Linked DNA regions of Homo sapiens: region 2 is linked to region 1. Evidence: promoter capture Hi-C in 16 types of primary human blood cells and fetal thymus (Javierre and others, 2016). All regions are on one chromosome and are shown on one strand. Each heading gives the region's core, a stretch centred on a gene start or on the middle of the fragment in contact. The rest is flanking DNA. Distances are from core to core; before and after follow the strand shown.

The links. Contacts are between HindIII fragments. The CHiCAGO score rates a contact against its expected background, and 5 or more counts as called.
Region 2: a fragment that was not itself captured here is called in contact with the fragment with the promoter of SLC45A4-AS1 in region 1 in 1 of 17 cell types (neutrophils); the score reaches 9.1 in neutrophils.

What each region holds. Positions count from the first base shown.
Region 1 is chr8:141,252,714-141,257,309 of GRCh38, forward strand. It overlaps SLC45A4-AS1 (SLC45A4 antisense RNA 1), which reads left to right and starts at 1,854. Exons shown (of 2, transcript NR_161376.1): 1 at 1,854-2,058; 2 at 3,728-4,104. SLC45A4 (solute carrier family 45 member 4) reads right to left here. Exons shown (of 9, transcript NM_001286646.2): 2 at 1,276-1,916. The coding sequence starts at 1,516. The HindIII fragment of the contact is 11,163 bases long and covers 1-4,596 here.
Region 2 is chr8:141,182,322-141,186,970 of GRCh38, forward strand. It overlaps DENND3 (DENN domain containing 3), which reads left to right. Exons shown (of 23, transcript NM_001352890.3): 18 at 2,818-2,957. Among named protein-coding and RNA genes, the nearest start is that of DENND3-AS1, 55 kb to the left of the region's middle. RefSeq lists enhancers at 241-350, 1,111-1,160, 1,241-1,380, 2,081-3,035. The HindIII fragment of the contact is 3,747 bases long and covers 1-3,124 here.

The DNA of each region.
Region 1 (4,596 bases), core at 604-3,103:
TGCGTGTCTGTGAATTTCCGTGTTTTCATGCCCACCTGCGTCTGTGAATTTCCGTTTTCACGCCCACCTGTGCGTCTGTGAATTTCCGTGTTTTCACGCCCACCTGCGTGTCTGTGAATTTCCGTGTTTTCATGCCCACCTGCCCGTGTCTGTGAATTTCTGTTTTCATATCCACCTGTGTGTCTGTGAATTTTCGTGTTTTCATGCCCACCTGCGTGTCTGTGAATTTCCGTGTTTTCACGCCCACCTGTGCGTGTCCGCGAATTTCCGTGTTTTCACACCCACCTGTGCGTCTGTGAATTTCCGTGTTTTCACACCCACCTGTGTCTGTGAATTTCCGTGTTTTCACGCCCACCTGCGAGTGTCTGTGAATTTCCGTGTTTTCACGCCCACCTGCGAGTGTCTGTGAATTTCCGTGTTTTCACGCCCACCTGCAAGTCTATGAATTTCCGTGTTTTCATGCCCACCTGCGGGTCTGTGAATTTCCGTGTTTTCATGCCCACCTGCGTGTCTGTGAATTTCCGTGTTTTCATGCCCACCTGTGTGTCTGTGAATTTCCGTGTTTTCATGCCCACCTGCGTGTGTCTGTGAATTTCTGTGTTTTCATGCCCACCTGTGCGTCTGTGATTTTCCGTGTTTTCATGCCCACCTGTGCGTGCCTGTGAATTTCCATGCTTTTGGAAATGCCTGTCTCTGAGCCATCTACTGTCCACAATAACCTTGGATTCAAGTCAACAGCAACAATGATAAGATGACAGCATCTTCCAGTATCTCCCACAGCCAGGCACTGTTCTAAGCACACCTGGGACCCTCTTAGGGTTGGTTTGCGAATGCAATCACTTTACACACAAAGAATCAGAGTGTGGCACAGAAGGGCTCCCGAATTCGCCTGCATGACACAGCCAGTGACTGTCAGTGCTGGCGACCCTGCCCTTTGCCTCGTTGTTCACTGTGGCCTGGCAGGGACAGCGGGAGAGGTGAGCCCCGGCCGAGAGCCAGTACTTATCAGTGCCAATTCTGCCCCAGATGCTGAGCTACCACTTTGCCAAAACTGTAATTCAACGTCAACATCCGAAGATCACTCCTCCCCAAACCTGGCTGAAAACAGGAGACGAAAACCACCATCAGGGCAGGCTGAAGGGAGAGGAGACAAAGACTCCAGTGCCCGGGGCTCTCCAGGACGCACCATCCTCTGCCTCCAGAGGATCAGAGCCACGCCCAGTCCGCTAGCACTCCGCTCAGCGTTCACTGCGCACAGACGGGGAGGAGACTTACCAATCTGCAACAGTATTGGTGTGACCAGAGCGGTTTCCATGGCGTAACAGAACTCCCTGCCAAACATCACCGCCCCGTGCATCACCCACAGGCGCATGGGGATTCGGTCTATGGACCCCTCGCTGATGGTCTCGCAGTTCTCGGCCTCTGCGCCTCCGGCTTTCTGCGGGTCCGGCAGGGGCACGGATAACTCTTGAACTTGCATAGATTCCGGGTCGGCATTCTGCGGAGCCATTTTCATTACCACCAAAAATATATGTATTTATCTATATATTCTATCTATATAAATAATGCTTTCATATATCTGTAATGATAAATTAAGACGTCTTCTCTTTCTGCTTCTGCTGTGTTCCTCGGGCAGGTAACACTTACATTCCTCTTTGCACAAGTGGCTATCTCACAACTTCTCACAACGGTATGAGACATGCAGCAACACAGAACGATTTTTGGTTGGATTTTAAACATATGGCTTGCTGGTTTACTGTGAATTAGAGTTAAAAATCCATAATTGCCATTCAGTTAATACCAGTTTCATCATTATTACTGAAGAGGTGCTGAAGTGATTTTTCTTGCTACAGAGAGGTGGGAAGGTGATACAAACAGGTGGTCCGCTGGTAATCCCCATCGAGTGACTGGATGATCTGCAAAAGAGGAAAACAACCCGGCCAGAGAGTCAGGGGACGGCCACCAGATGGCCCTGTGGACCGCCGCCCGACCCCCGAGCAAGCCGTGTGCCCCGAGGGCCCGACCCAAGATCACACAGCTCTCTGCCACTCACTCTGGGTACGTCTGTGCAAATAACCAAACCTACTTTCTAGAAAAACATTTTCTCATACGAAAGTGAATCCTGGGGAAGGACAAAGGTGGGGCAATCAAGGAAAGCAGGATCAAAGAACAGACAGAGAAAAACGCTGGAAATATTCACTCTTTGGCCAGTAACAATATCGTCCACCCTGTGTACCACAGCACGTAACTATTCCAGCAGGCTGGAGGCAGCTGGCGACACCCTTTGTGGCTGCAGATATCATGAAAGGGAAGTAAGGAGGTGAAGGGAAAAGTGGGGGAGGTAGGCAAAAGAGAATCAAAAGGGAAAACTTTTGTTTAAAAAAGTTTAATTTGTTAGTGACAAGGTCTCGCTCCGTTGCCCAGGCTGGAGTGCGGTCACACGACCATGGCTCTCTGCAGCCTCAAACTCCTGGAATCAAGTGATCTCCCACCTCATCCTCCCGAGTAGCTGCGACTACAGGCATGCACCACTACACCCAGCTAATTTTTCTAGGGTCCCCATTACATTGACCTGGCTGGTATCCAACTCCTGGGCTCAAGCGATCTACCCTGCCTCGGCCTCCCAAAGCACTAGGATTTACAAGTGTGAGCCACCGTGCCCAGCCAAAAAGGGAAACTGTAGACCCTGCCTGGAGAGGTGGAAATTAAAAATAAAAAGCAGCTGGGCACGGTGGCTTAAGTCTGTAATCCCAGCACATTGGGGGGCTGAAGCAGGTGGATCACCTGAGATTAGGAGTTCAAGACCTGCTTGGGCAACATGGCGAAAGCCCATCTCTACTAAAAATACAAAAATTAGCCAGGCATGGTGGCGGGCGCCTGTAATACCAGCTACTCAGGAGGGTGAGGCAGGAGAATCACTTGAACCCGGGAGGTGGAAGTTGCAGTAAGCTGAGATCGCACCACTGCACTCCAGCCTGGGCAACAGAGTGAGACCCTGTCTCAAAAAACAAAAACAAAAACAAACAAACAAAAAAAACAAAAAGAAAAGAAAAATGAAAAGTAGGAGGCTGGGTGGAATGAGCATAGCATGATTCTCTGTCCGGGGGGAGTTCGAAGTCTACCCAAAGGCACCTGGACTCCTGTGGTATTGGCCTTTAGGTTATAAAACCTCTTGGGAATAAAATGAAATTATAGACCTTTTCTCCAGAAAAAAATGTACGCATGTGCCAAACTCTGACTATAGTACCTAGGGGTTCGGAGACTCCCAACCCACACGCAGCTTTCCCAGGGTCTACGGAACCCTATCACCCCAACCCTCGGCTTTCCACCACCCTGCCTCCAGTGACAAACCCAGCTTGGTGACAAATTCCCCACCTGGGCAAACACATACAATAAAGCAGCAATAAGCTAACTGGAAATGCCACCTTGGAAATGTTTTAGGAAATGAGGTCAATCTCTCCTCAGGTAAGATAAGATCGGGGATGTGGAACACCCCAAGTTCAGGACTTCTGGAGTTAGGTCTCCAGACATGGGGTTCGGTTCAACTGAAGTGTTAGAGCCCCTAAAAACACACCTAAATGGTGTTCACAGTTTATATTAAGGTAGGTCTATGGGCCAATACCTTACTGAGAATTTTTCCAACAACTGGTTTCAACAAAAATATTTCTCATTACTTTCCACCGAACCAAAGGTGGTCTTAATTAGCTCCTCCTCTCTTTCTCCCCAGAGGAGACCAGAAACCTCGAGGTGCTGTCTTCACTCGGCTCCTCTCTCACACAGCCCTGATGGAGAAGGTGGGTCCCTGGCACGTGGGCCCCAGGAGGGAGAAGACTCCGCTGTACAGGAGGTTCTGGAAGGAAGCCGTGCGCCTGGCTCTTACGTCCCAGCTCTTCCCTACATCTTCTTTCACGCTGCAGCGGAAACCAGAATGCCTACTAATTCCTTAAGAACCAAAGGTTCAAGTGGTGCTACCTATGTATTTGCTTCTTACGTCCCCTGAACGTCGCTACGATTCCACACGACAGCCCTCGAGAATTCTTTCAAGTTTTCCAAATGTCCTCTACCGTAGAAACATCTCAATTAAAACAAGAGTTTCCAAACTGTCACCTTACTGCAATATTTTTTCAAAAAACTGTGTAATGAAACTTTTTTTTTTTTTTGAGACAGTCTCGCTCTGTTGCCCAGGCTGGAGTGCAGTGGTGTGATCTCGGCTCACTGCAACCTCCGCCTCCCAGCTTCAAGCGATTCTCCCGCCTCAGCCTCCTGAGTAGCTGGGATTACAGGCACATGCCACCACGCCCAGCTAACTTTTGTATTTTTAGTAGACACAGGGTTTCACCATGTTGGCCAGGATGGTCTTGATCTCCTGACCTCATGATCCACCTGCTTCGGCCTCCCAAAGTGCTGGGATTACAAGCGTGGGGCACCACACCCAGCCAGAACTATTTCTAACATATGCAAAGTAAACAGAATAGTGTAAGAAACCACCCAGGTTTAATAAGGACCAACATTCTGCTATTCTTGTTCCGCCCCCACCTTTTCGGAATCATTCCTAACAGAAAATTTCACGATTTTCCCTGTTTTCAGTCTGTCAAT
Region 2 (4,649 bases), core at 1-2,500, 71 kb before region 1:
CCAAGAAACCCAGGAACGCGATAGACCCTGGCTGAGTGAGCAGGCAGCGTCATCAGGGCCGCCCCGCGTGAGCCCTACCTGATGTGTCTAAGCCAGGCTCTGTGCTGACTTCGCCAGAGATGACTCCACAGACCAAGATACTTTGACCGTGGCATTTGAATACATGGTATTTTTAGGTCCCGGTTGGTTTCCCTGAAATGAAACTCACTCTGAGCTTCCTGTTGTGACGGGCGAGGAGTTCAGGCGGCTTCCCCTCCAGGAGCATCTCGAAGGCCTGCAGAGAGCGTGCAAAGCAGCCGTGGGGAATGGGGAAACCGCCTTTTCCTGTGGCTGCCGATTCTGGAAGGGGTGGCCGAGAAGCTGGTAGCCGAGCAGGGCTTTTGCAAGCCTTGTGAGATTGCAGGGACAAGAGGTGGGGTCAGGCCCCATCAAGAAGGGGGAGTCTTGTTATTCCCATTAGCTTGGGGCTGGGTCTCCGACAGGTTCCTAGGAGTTAGGAGAACCAGCCCTGAGGCCAGGCCACAGGTCAGCTCAGGCTCTGCCCATGGGGAGCGTGCCTCTCAGAGACGGCAGTGTCTCACCCATGGGAGCAACAGACCACTGGAATCGCACCCCAGAAAGACCGGGAGGCCTGCCCTTCTGGACTCAGGACGGAGGCAGCACTGCAGGGCGGGGGGTCGCTTGAATATCCTCAGGGGAAAGGTGAAACCTCGCCCCTTCACACTGCCCTGCGGTCAGGCCCAAGGGGGCCGAAACCTCAACGCGGTGGTAAAAGGCAAATGTGAACAATGAAAGCAAGCAGACTTCTAGGTGATAGGGTAGAAGAATATTTTCATGACTTTATGGTAAAGAAAAAAATGCATAAATTATATATAAAATACCATAAAGGAAAAGAATGTTGAATTTGACTATATTAAAAGCAATGACTTTATTATTTTTATTTTTTCTGAGACAGGGTCTGACTCTGTCACCCAGGTGCAGTGGCGCGATCACACCTCACTGCAACCTCTGCCTCCTGGGCTCTAGCGATCCTCCGCCCTCGGCCTCCTGATTAGCTGGACTGCAGGTGCACACCACTATGCCCAGCCAATTTTTGTATTTTTTTTTTTTTTTTTTGTAGAGATGGAGTTTTGCCGTATTGCTCAGGCTGGTCTTGAACTCCTGAGCTTGAGCAGTCTGCCGGTTTTGGACTCCAAAGCGCTGGGTTAGAGGCGTGAGCCACCACAACTGGCCAAAAGCAATGATTTTAAAAAGAAGACACTTTTTTTTTCCTCCTTTCAAATGAGCTGGTTTAATTCACGGTGACACAAAATTGAGGGTAGAAGACCAAAGAGCGCCCTCTGGCAGGCTCAGGTGGGAATGACGGGTGAGAAGCCACTGAAGACGTCCGGTGACACTGTCAGTTTTTTGTTTTGTTTTTTTTTTTTTTTAATTTAAAAAAAAAAAGAAAAGTTTATGCTTGAAAGTGCAACAGGCTCCAGGGCAACGCTCACTCTAGCTGAAGATGGCAAAAGCTGTCCTGGCGGGGGTGCAGGTGTTGAAACAGGAGTGGAGTCCAGGCCGCCACCGCCCAGGCAGAGGGAGCAGCGTGCTTTCCGCCAGGGGTCTTAGTTCCAGCTGTGGCTGGGCCTCCCTGCGGCCTGTGCTTTCGGCCCCTTGAGGTTCTGGTCTGTTTTGCTTTCTGCTGGAAGCCTCATCATCTCTGTCCCTCTCCTGGGCCTGCTTCTTGGGCTGTCTCAGAGGCTTCTTGCCATCTTCATGGCCGGACACGGCGCCTACAGCCTCTTCCCCAGACCCTGCCACAGGAAATGGACAGAAGACACTTTTGAGAGGGTGAAAATGTAAGCTGCAGACTGGGAAGGATCTTTAAAATGGGTGCTGCTAAAATCATTGCTTTTAATGTAGTCAGATTCACCAGTCTTTTGCTTTATGGTATTTTTATATGTCATACGTAATTTATGAATACAGCACCATGGAGTCAGTTAGGGGCTCATATCCAGAACACCGGAACAGCTGGCCGGGCGTGCCTGTGGTCCCAGTGAGGTGGGAGGGTGGCCAGAGCCCTGGACTCGGAGCCTGTGGTTTGCTGTGATCGCACCTGTGAACACTGCTGCACTCCAGCCCGGGCAACATGGCAAGACCTCGTCTATTAAAAAGTAAAAAAAAATAAAAATAAAAAAAAATAACAGCCACAAACTAGGGAGAACGAAAAACAGACACTTCCCACAAGAGGGCATGGGGATGGCCAGTTCAAGCCATCAGGCTCATTAGCAATTAGAGAAATGCAATTAAACCACAATTTAAAAGCCAAAAGCTCCACACCCTTAGAATGGCCGAAATTAAAAAGATGGACGGACGCCAGCAAGTGTTGGGAAAGACGCGGAGCCCGCTGCACATGAGGGTGTGGGGGGCACCATGGCCCCTGCCGCCGTCTCTCCAGCTGCCCTCCCTCCCTGCCTCCCTCCCTCTGTGTCCACCTGCTCCTCTTCCAGTTCCCTCTGCCTGGCTGTTTCCTCTAGTGAATGCTCACTCAGCTGGCAGGTCCTGGCTTAGCAAAGCTCACAGGCATTCGGCTCTGCATCTGCCTGCGGCTCTGACCCTGTCTTTGTGGCCCTCTCACCAGCCAGCTGCCCCCCTTGACTCTGAGCTCCCAGAGGGCAGGGAAGCCTCTGCCTGGGCACGTCTTTGTACGTACAGCACCTAACATGGGCCTGGCGCTTAGGAGGGCCCAGGAGGCACCTGAGTAAGGGCACCAGTCACCTGCTGCTACAGCAGAAGTGTTTCCTCCTAACAGTTTTGTGCTGCTCTCCTCTTTAGGGCATCTTGACCCAGCCGAAAAAGTTGAAGATGCTCACCCCAAGTTATGGTGTGCTCTGAGCGAAGGCAAGGTGACCGTGTTCAATGCTTCTTCATGGACCATCCACCAGCACTCCTTTAAAGTGGGCACTGCAAAAGTGGTGAGTACACGAAGCGTCAGGAAAGAAGCCTCTGAATTCACGTGATTTCTGAAACCCAAGTGTGTTCATCCATATTCGACAGTAGGATACAAGCTATTCCACAGCCTCACTCGGTTTCTGTAAACAGGGGGTCTTAACTTTCACCTGGAGTTTTCAAATTAAATGTAAGCTTGTTCCAAACTTCTACTTACACGTCCTTATTGAAGGAGAAGATAATGGCTTTGACTTTCTCATCTAAAAACAGATTTCAGGCCCCCATCTAAAAATAGATTGCAGGGGCTCACACCTCTAATCTCAGCACTTTGGGAGGCTGAGGTGGGTGGATTGCCTTGAGCCCAGGAGTTTGAGACCAGCCTGGGCAACAGAGTGAGACCCCATCTCTACAAAAACTACAAAAATTAGCCGGGCATGGTGGAGCGTGCCTGTAGTCCCAGTTACTTGGGAAGCTGAGGTGGTAGGATCGCTGAGCCTGGGAGGTCGAGGCTGCAGTGAGCCAAGATCGCGCCACTGCACTCCAGCCTGGGTGACAGAGCCATACCCTGTCTCAAACAGACAAATAATAATAATAATAAAATAATAAAAATCGACGTCAGTTCTGTGAAGTGGAGCCATTGTGGTCTCTGCCTGCTTATTACAGGCTTCACACACTTTGGGAACAATTTCCTTCTTTTTTTTCTTTTTTGAGACAGGGTCTTGCTCTGTTGCCCAGGCTGGAGTGCAGTGGTTCAGTCATGGCTCACTGCAGCCTCGACCTTCTGGGCTCAAGGGATCCACCTCGGTCTCCTGAGTAACTGGGACTACAGGTGCATGCTACCATGCCTGGCTAATTTTGTATTTTTTGTAGAGATGAGGTTTTGCCACGCTGCCCAGGCTGGGAACGATGTCTTCCATCCTGTACTGCAGCACTAAGGTTCCCAGGGACCAGGGCCTTAAAATGAACCTGCAGTGTTTCCTGGGAACCCTGGTGTTTCCTGGTGGCACAGTGGTTACTGGGTCTCTTTTGGAGCAAAAGAGGAGACAGCTGCCTCTGCAGTGACTTCAGTGTTATCCACCTGTCCCCACGTGCCAGGTGGCAGAGACCAGGGCCCAGCAAAACTCAGTGTCCACTCGTCACACATTATTCCTCTCACTTAGAGCAAGCTTGTCCAACCTGTGGCCTGCAGGCTGTACGTGGCCCAGGACGGCTTTGAATGAGGCCCAACACAAATTTGTAAACTTTCTTAAAACATATGTTGAGTTTTTTTTGCAATCTTTTTCCTTCTAGCTCATCAGCGATCGTTAATGTTAGTGTATTTTATGTGTGGCCCAAGACAATTCTTCTTCCACTGTGGCTCAGGGAAGCCACAAGAGTGCACACCCCTGATTTAAAGCAAGTTTGAATTGTTTCTGATAATTTTAAAACAAGTGCAACTGTTAATACATTTTTAGTAGTGTGTCCTTGGCAGTGCCATGGTGTGTCGCTTCTTCCATGACCATGGTATCTTGAGTGTGGAAGCTGGGATTCCTGCCCTGCTCATCCCTCCAGGCCCCCAGCGGCCCCTCCTGCCTGCAGACCATCATTTCTTGGGGATTTTCCCTGTTTGCCCGTCAGCGCTGTGAGCTGCCCCTCCCTGCGGATCTGTGTGCGCTTCCCTGTCGCCCGAGAGGCCGCTGAGTAGCTCCCCGTGCTCTGAGACCCCACACTCCCCCGCA